Linked DNA regions of Homo sapiens: regions 1 and 3 are each linked to region 2. The links are contacts of gene promoters, found by promoter capture Hi-C in human tissues and cell types (Jung and others, 2019). All regions are on one chromosome and are shown on one strand. Each heading gives the region's core, a stretch centred on a gene start or on the middle of the fragment in contact. The rest is flanking DNA. Distances are from core to core; before and after follow the strand shown.

Region 1 (2,924 bases), core at 23-2,522, 430 kb before region 2:
TCTTGAACTACTGACCTCATGATCCACCCGCCTCAGCCTCCCAAAGTGCTGGGATTACAGGCGTGAGCCACCGCACCCGGCCGTTTTTTTGTTTTTGTTTGTTTTTGTTTTTTTGTTTTTTTTGTTTTTTTTTGAGACAGGTTCTTGCTCTGTCACCCAGGCTGGAGTACAGTGGTACAATCACAGCTCACAGCAGTCTTCATCTCCTGGGCTCAGGCAATCCTCCCACCTCAGCCTCCCTAGTAGCTGGGACTGCAGCTGTGCACCACCATGCCTGGCTAATTTTTGTATTTTTTTGTAGAGACAAGGTCTCGCTACGTTACCCAAGCTGGTCTCGAACTGCTGGGCTCAAGCAATCCTCCTGCCACAGCCTCCCAAAGTCCTGGAATTACAGGCGTGAGCCACGGCACCCAGCCTTTTTTCCCCCCTCATATATAATTATTTCTCACAACCAATGTTTCTTCTTAGGGGAAATAGCCCTGAGACTGGGGCTGTACCTTACACAGCTCTGGGTGCTGATACGCACCCCATGTCAAGCGGGAAAGATACCTGGGCACATGCTCCGAGGTGTAGGGTACAAGGACCACCTTCTTCCCCAGCAGCAAGGTGTTCTGATTCAACCTCATGGTAGCAGCCTGCATGCAGATGGGGAGAGCAAAGACTTCAGGACCCTGAATTTCCTCCAACTTTGGGTAGGCGCTCCAGCTTTCCTGCTGGGGCTAAGTTGACTTCCGTCATTAGTTCCGTCTAGACACTTCAAAGAATACAGACTCCAAAATTCTTGCAAGAAAGAGAACCAGGCTGGTTAAGGATAATTAAACAATCCTTGACTCCCACTCCAAGAGGCCAAGCCTGGGCTCCGTTTCTGCCGGTTCCTTCCGTCCACTCCCCAGAACTTCGATTCCTCAAACCCAAGCACCAAGTACCAAGTACCAAAGTATCCCCAGAGCTCCCATTACTTGCCCCAGTCCAGGGATTCCAACCCAGAATCAACTTTCAGCCCTGCCTTAAACCTACTTCCAACCTCTTACCCCGGCGACCACCCCACGGGGCTCTAGCCACTCCCTCCCCGCCCCCGACCACTTCAGGGCAAGGCGGGCTTAGTCTTAGGCCCTCCCCTTTGAGTGGCGTTCTAGACCACTCTCTTCGACCCTCCAACCACGCGGACCCGGGTACTGCCAAGCTCACACCCACCTACCACCGACGAAATCGTCCCCCGCAGAAAGGGTGATCTACCTCCTCCAACCAGCCACGTTCCCAGGCCCGGCCGGCTACCGCCCCTTCCGCATGCGCGTGAGAACGCGCCCCGCCCACTTCCGCCATGCTGACGGCAGCCGCCAGGCCCCAATCCCGGTCCCGCCCCCGCGAGGCGCCCAATCAGCGCGCGCGAAAAAGGTGGGCTGTGGGGCCGGCGCATGCGCGCTGCGGAAGCTGGTGCTGGACAGCTGGCGCCGGCAGCAGCGGACCGGCGGGAGACGGCGGCTTGGGAGCTGGCTGTGCTGCAGGTGTTGGGTCGGGTCGGGTCGGGACGGGCGGGAGAGGACGAGACGGGTCGGGATAGGTTGGGGCGGGGCGGGGCGGCACTAGACTCGGGACTCCTCCAGGAGGGAGAGAGAGGGAGAGGCTGGGAGTGGGGTTCTTGAGAAAAGAGGGAGCTTTGAGGGTGGGGAACCCTAAGAGAGTAGGTGGGGCCAGGGAGTGGAGGCCCCATTAAAAAAAGGAGGCCTTAGTGCCAAGAGTGGAGTTGGAAGGGCAATGTAGGAAAGCCCCCAGCTCCCTGCCCTAGGCAGAGGCGGCAGACAGTTCCTTGGGCTCCCATGTGTGGTAGTGAGCTCCTGGTTCCTGGAACTAAACGAGGATAACCACCCCAGAGCGTGGAAAGGGGGCTCTTGTGGTGGGTGAGACTTAGTGGTTTTAGAGGCCCCTTAAATCACTTGCACCCCGAGCAGCATTGAAAACATCCGTGCTGGGCACAGAGCAGTGCCCTGCACAGCAAGGGAAATGTTAGAAGAAACCGTCCAGATTTCTGTCATCCAGGGTGACCCCTCCCTCGGGGGTGAGTCTTGTGACAGATACTGAGGCCCTAAGTGTCTGTGATAAAAGAACCAGAGGTGGCAGGGGAAGTCTGCAAGCCTCCTCCCACCCCTGTCTCAGTCCATCAGATAGGTGAAGCCTGCTCTTTTGTTTTAAGGAGCTGCGGCAGCCGCCGTCCTTGCACCTAAGGAACCTCTGCTGCCAGCCCTTCCTCACTTTTGGAAATGGCGGGTGAAATTACAGAGACCGGGGAACTCTACTCTTCCTACGTGAGTGTGACTTATAGAACCTTTTGCTCACTTAAGTGTTCCTGGCTTCTAGAAAAGCACATTGCTTGCTGGAGATGGGACTAGTGAGTGCTGCTGCTTGAGCAGACCATAGTGGAAGCAGGATGGGGGAGTTCCATGGGGCAGCGACTACAGTGCTGCTGTGGTGGCTCAGAATGTAAGTCAGATTTATTCTCTTTTTAAGGTGTTTGTCAGAGTGGTCAAGCCAAACAAAATCGCCATGCTGTTTATAATGTTAATCCCGGGCTGGGCACGGTGGCTCACGCCTGTAATCCCAGCACTTTGGGAGGCTGAAGCGGGCAGATCACCTGAGGTCAGGAGTTCAAGACCAGCCTGGCCAACATGGTAAAACCCTGTCTCTACTAAAAATACAAAATTAGCCGGGCATGGTGGCACTGTAATCCCAGCTACTCGGGAGGCTGAGGCAGGAGAATCGCTTGAACCCGGGAGGCGGACGTTGCAGTGAGCTGAGATCGAGCCGTTGCACTCCAGCCTGGGCAAAAAGAGCGAAACTCTGTCTCAAAAATAAAGAAATAATGTTCATCTCCAGGCTACCACACTTGCCTGCAGTGCTGCCCTTCAGATGAACAGTGATTGACAGCT
Region 2 (2,700 bases), core at 172-2,671:
GAAGTAGTTTATGTATCCTTCTTTTTCAGTTAATCCTAATGGAAAACGGTTGGAAAAATGAAACAATTATCTTACAACTTATTTTTCTCTTTCCTCTCCTCCCCTCTCTCTAAAAGAGTGTGGCTCCTTCCCCTCTCTTTTCCCCTTCCTCTCTCTAGAGTGGTTAACTCTCAAACTGTATTTAACTCTGGAAAAGTTTTCAATTACACAGGCGATAACTCCAACTTGAGGTATAACGGAAACTTATTAAGAGAAAAAGAGCAAAATAATTTTTTTTTGAGACTCAGCAAAATAATTTTTTTTTTTTTGAGACGGAGTCTCCGTCTGTCGCCCAGGATGGAGTGCAGTGGCGCGATCTTGGCTCACTGCAACCTCCGCCTCCCGGGTTGGAACAATTCTCCTGCCTCAGCCTTACGAGTAGCTGGGATTACAGGTGTCCGCCACCACTCCCGGCTAATTTTTGTATTTTCAGTAGAGACGGGGTTTCGCCATGTTGTCCAGGCTGGTCTTGAACTCCTGACCTCAGGTGATCCAACCACCTCGGCGTCCCGGAGTGCTGGGATTACAGGCGCGCGCTACCAAGCACAGCTAATTTTTTTTTTTTTTTTTGAGACGGAGTCTCGCTCTGTCTCCCAGGCTGGAGTGCAGTGGTGCGATCTTGGCTCAATGCAACCTCCACCTCCCGGGTTGGAACAATTCTCTTGCCTCAGCCTTCCGAGTAGCTGGAATTACAGGTGTCCGCCACCACGCCCGTCTAATTTTTTATATTTTTAGTAGAGACGAGGTTTCATCATATTGGCCAGACTGGTCTTGAACTCCTGAACTCCAGTGATCCACCCACCTTGGGCTGCCAAAGTGTTGGGATTAGAGGCTTGAGCCACAGCGCCGGGCCTTCAGGGGTATCGATTTTGTTCCCGTGCCTCTTGTGTGTGTTCTAGTGTGGAAGTGGAGGCGATTGCTTTCCAGCACAAGCCCGTTTGACTGTCGGGGTTTGGACAAGTGGCTGCGACGACACTAAGGTGGAGACCGGGATGTAGCGAGGACTCCCAGAGTTGGGAGACGTTGTACGCTTACTGGGACCTAAATCCCGCACGAGTTCCCACCCAAGTGCCGCCGCCCCAGCCTACGCACGCGCATTCGCACCGTCTCCAGCCCCGGGGTCCTCCTGCCCCTCCCGCCGTCTCCGGGGGCCTTTTCTCCGCTCGGCACCAGGGTGTCCCCGGCGCCGCCTGATCCTGTTAGCGCGGTACTCTGAGTGCAGTCAGTCCTCGGCGCTGTTTTCCCTGATTTGCTGTCGACGCCAGGAAGGAAGGACGCGTGCAGAGGACCGCAGAGGGGTGGCCGTGGCTGAGAGGAGACAGCGCCGCAGCACTGAGGGTTTGGGCTTGCAGGCGCTGCAGGAGACGCCCAGGCGGAGTCTTGTCTCGCAGCCAGCTCTGAGCGGGAGGCCTGAGCGGGAAGCATTGGCGTCCGAGCGACTTCTAGGAGCCTGGGGTTCGGCGCTATGGAGGAGCTCGATGGCGAGCCAACAGTCACTGTAAGGGTACCCCGAACAGGCTTGCTCGTCCTTGCGGGTTGAGAACTGCGTCTGCTTAGTTACTTCAGGCTTGTCTGCTTCCCTAGTGGTCGCGAGGCGCTCGTCCCCTTCCCTCGACTCAGTTGCCACTTTTCCGGAGGTCGCAGTGTTAACGAGGTGCCCGCCCTAGGGTCGCAGTGGTCGCGGGGTTTCTGCCACCAGTCACAAACCCCGGCCTCGAAGGTCCCACTCCGTCCCTTTCCTTCCTTTGTGTTCCTGGCCTTTTTACTTCCCTTGCTTTTCCTCTTGGGCATTAGAGTGGGTTCAGCCCAAGCAGAGGAATTTATATTTTTATTCCAGCCGTATTAAGCTCTGCATCGCGGCACATTGAGCTTCTGCCTGTGTGGCCTAAGGTTTATTCAACGTATTATCTCAGGAGACTATTCCTGTTTTATCGCTGTGCATTCAATTCCATTTGAACTTTGAAGACAGTATGTCAACTGTGGATGATCTGTGATGTGTATAAAAAAAATTCACGCGCTTTATGTACGAGATACCTACCGTTTCTGCTAGTTGGATTGCTCTTGTTTTCCCTCTTGTTAACCAGAAGTGACTGAGGCAGGTCTCAACCGATAAAGGTTTAATTAGCTAAGGTTGAGGATCCAACCGGGAAAAAGCACAGGTCACAGGAGGATCTGAGACCTGTGCTTTTTCCAAAGATGGTTTTGGGAACATCACTAGTTAAAGAGGAAGGAGCTAGCAGGAGGGGCAAAAAAGGGAGGTTAGGCAGTGAGGAGGCAAATGATTACATTCTTGTGAGTCGGTGATTAGCCTCAGTAAATCTGCATTTTACCTGTGAAAAGAGGGAGCAGAGGAAAATTTTATGTATGCATTCATCTCAGGGTAGGTAGAGGGATTATGGTTATTATTACTGTTATTTTTTAGACGGAGTCTCGCTCTGTCTCCCAGGCTGGAGTGCAGTGGCGCGGTCTCGGCTCACTGTAACCTCCGCCTCCCGGGTTCACACCATTCTCCTGCCTCAGCCTCCTGAGTAGCTGGGACTACAGGTGCCCGCCACCACGCCCGGCTAATTTTTTGTACTTTTTTGTATTTTTAGTAGAGACGGGGTTTCACCGTGTTGGCCAGGATGGTCTCAATCTCCTGACCTCGTGATCCGCCCACCT
Region 3 (2,700 bases), core at 53-2,552, 310 kb before region 2:
CGCTCAAGGGCTTGGAGAAGTCCTCAGACACGCTGTAGTGCATACTGCACCAGTGGACCGGCATACCATCAGCTGCAGCGGCCTGCCCCCGTGGGCACATGCACAGCTGGACACACCCGCATGCTCGAACAGAAGAATGAGGCTGCCACACGGTCCCAGCAGCTGCCTGCATCCTCCTTCTCCCAGGCTCACCTCCACAAAGAAAAGCAGCCAGATCTTGCTCCAGCGTTTGGACTCGGTGAGGGCCCCATGAGTGGCCAGGTGGCTGCCCTTGACAGTGAGTGTGTAGTGGCACACACCCAAGATGGTGATGCCGGATGCAAAGACCAGGGCATTCTCCCAGCGCAGGCACAGGAAGCCTGCGTGGAGAGGAGGAAGAAGACGGGTCTTTCTCTAGCTCTGGGTGATCTGGGCCCAAATACCTCAACCCTTACCCTGGGAGCCCAGGCTAAAGTGGGCTAGGCTCTGGGGGCTGCCACTGGCCGGAGTGAGGCAGGTCCCACTGTGGCCTGAGGGGAACCAGGACTGCCCCTCCAGCGGTCCTGACTCTCCCGTGCCTGGTCCTGACTCTCCAGTGCGTGGTCCTGGGCCCCCAGCCAAAGCAATGTTGGGGCCTCAGGTACCATGGGTGTTCCAGACCAGGAAGGGTCCAGGGGAAACTCCCACCCCCTCCCCACTCACCTAGGTCCCCAAAGAACACCGTCTCCCTTCCCGGGGGTGGGGGGGCACCTCATCACTCCCGGCCACTCCCCCGCTCCTCTCAACTTTCCCTTCCACCACCCTCCTGCGCCCCCTCCTAGGGTACACAGGGCAGAACACCCCAGTCCAGACTCTCAGGTTCGGGGTGTGACCCTCCATCCTTGGGTGCGGGGCCCCGACCACCTCCGCCTCCCTGCCGCCGCCAGTCCACTCCGCAGGCTGCACTCCCACGGCTGCTGTTGCAGACCCCGCGCCGCCACCTCCGCCGCACCCCGCCCCCACCCGCAGCCCGGCCGGGACGCCGGGTCCCCGCGTTCCTCACCTGCCGGCAAGGCGAAGAGGCTGAGCGCGAGGATGGCGCAGTCCACGCCGTGGCGCTCCCACCAGGAGCTCGTCCTCACCACGTCCTGCACCAGCACCTCCAGCTCCCGCAGCAGCGCCTCGCCCCCACGGTGCGCGCTCCGCGCCGGTTCCATGGGCTCCGTAGGTTCCATGGGCTCCGTAGGTTCCATGGGCTCCGTAGGTTCCATGGGCTCCGTAGGTTCCATCGGCTCCGTGGGTTCCATGGACTCTGTGGGCTCGGGCCCGACGCGCACGGAGGACTGGAGGACTGGGGCGTGTGTCTGCGGTGCAGGCGAGGCGGGGCGGGCCGGGGCGGAGTCACGCGCCGCCTGGGGACACCCGCCCCCGGGGTCAAGGTGCGAGACACCCTGGCTCCTCTGCTGCGGGCGCTGGCGACCCAGGCCCGGCTCAGGCGCGCGACCCTGGCAGGCGGCATCAGAACCGCCGCGGAGGGAGGAGCCAGGCCGATGAGCTGAGAGTGGCTAGGCGGGGAGGCGACCCTGCGGTGAGACCCAGCCCAGGTAGTAGGGACGGAGGCGTCAGGGGCACGGAGACCCCAGTGGAGACACCCCCCACCCCCGCCCCGCCCCGAGGGCCTTCCCTGACCTCCGACCTCAAATAACTCCCTGAGTTCCCTCGGTCCCTGAGATCTGTCCGAGCATTCTCTTCCCTCGACCCTGACTATTCGTAGTGGCACTGAGCAGCTCCCCTCGTACGTGACACACATGACACATGCTGTCGTCTGTCTCTGCCAACAGACGGACCCTCAGTGCCGTAGAGACGTCCTCGTTTTGCCCAAGCTCTGTCTTCAGTACCTAGGGCAATGCTTGGCACAGAAACATCTGGGAATTCCTAGGGCAGAAAGTTCAAGGACTCCCCACTCCCCCTCCCCGTGGGTCAAGGAGTGAGAGGTCCCCTCTGAGTATGGCTTCAGCAGAGGTGACCCAGGGGAGCTGGCTCTTCAGCCCAATAATGTTTTGGGTGAGACGGGTAGCTACAGGGAATACACATCCGGAGGTCATCATTCTGGGTGGGCAGGCAGACCAGCCGGGTCCCGCTGCCATTCCACTCCCTCAAGAGCGCCCAGGCCTGAACCCAGGGCCAGGGCCTCAGCCAAGCCCTCTGAGATGTGGGAGCCACACCTGTCACATCCCCTTCCCATCAGCCCAGGCCCCCACCCCGCACTGCTGGAGATGGCCTTGGTCCTCAGGGGATAAGCCTCTGTCCTCTACAAACTCCTCTTCCCTGCTTCTGAATACCCTTTCTCTTTTCTTTTTTGTTTTACTTACTCCCAGTTTCATGACTTAAGGGATCTGGTATGGTGAGGACAGTGGCATCTTTAGCAGGAGACCCCTAGGAAAGAGAAGTTGGGTGGGTGGGGTAAGGGAGAGACAGTCAGGGATCCTAATGACATTGATTCCTTTTGACTCCTTCCTGGTGTTTTCCTTCAGGAATTCTTTTTTTTCTCTCTTTGTTTAGAAACAGGGTCTCGCTCTATCACTCAGGCTGGAGTGCAGTGGCACAATCACAGCTCACTGCAGCCTCGATTTCCTAGGCTCAAGTGATCCTCCCCCTCAGCCTCCTGAGTAGCTTGGGACTACAGGCACACACGGGGACCACTAAGCCTGGCTAATCATGAATTCGTATGAGCTTATTCCT

What was found. Contacts are between HindIII fragments. The study calls those that stand out against the background at their distance.
Region 1: the fragment with the promoter of NAT9 here is called in contact with the fragment with the promoter of NUP85 in region 2 in 1 of the 25 tissues and cell types used here (lymphoblastoid cells).
Region 3: a contact is called between the fragment with the promoter of FADS6 here and the fragment with the promoter of NUP85 in region 2, in 1 of the 25 tissues and cell types used here (hippocampus).

The regions. Positions count from the first base shown.
Region 1 is chr17:74,775,073-74,777,996 of GRCh38, forward strand. NAT9 (N-acetyltransferase 9) reads right to left here and starts at 1,273. Exons shown (of 7, transcript NM_015654.5): 1 at 1,195-1,273; 2 at 550-635. The coding sequence starts at 626. SLC38A12 (solute carrier family 38 member 12) reads left to right here and starts at 1,427. Exons shown (of 10, transcript NM_017728.4): 1 at 1,427-1,505; 2 at 2,192-2,303. The coding sequence starts at 2,259. RefSeq lists an enhancer at 955-1,074. The HindIII fragment of the contact is 11,963 bases long and covers 1-2,924 here.
Region 2 is chr17:75,204,258-75,206,957 of GRCh38, forward strand. It overlaps NUP85 (nucleoporin 85), which reads left to right and starts at 1,422. Exons shown (of 19, transcript NM_024844.5): 1 at 1,422-1,537. The coding sequence starts at 1,505. RefSeq lists enhancers at 227-1,161, 1,162-2,095, 1,254-1,433. The HindIII fragment of the contact is 15,269 bases long and covers 1-2,700 here.
Region 3 is chr17:74,892,331-74,895,030 of GRCh38, forward strand. FADS6 (fatty acid desaturase 6) reads right to left here and starts at 1,303. Exons shown (of 6, transcript NM_178128.6): 1 at 1,022-1,303; 2 at 193-359. The coding sequence starts at 1,265. The HindIII fragment of the contact is 12,637 bases long and covers 1-2,700 here.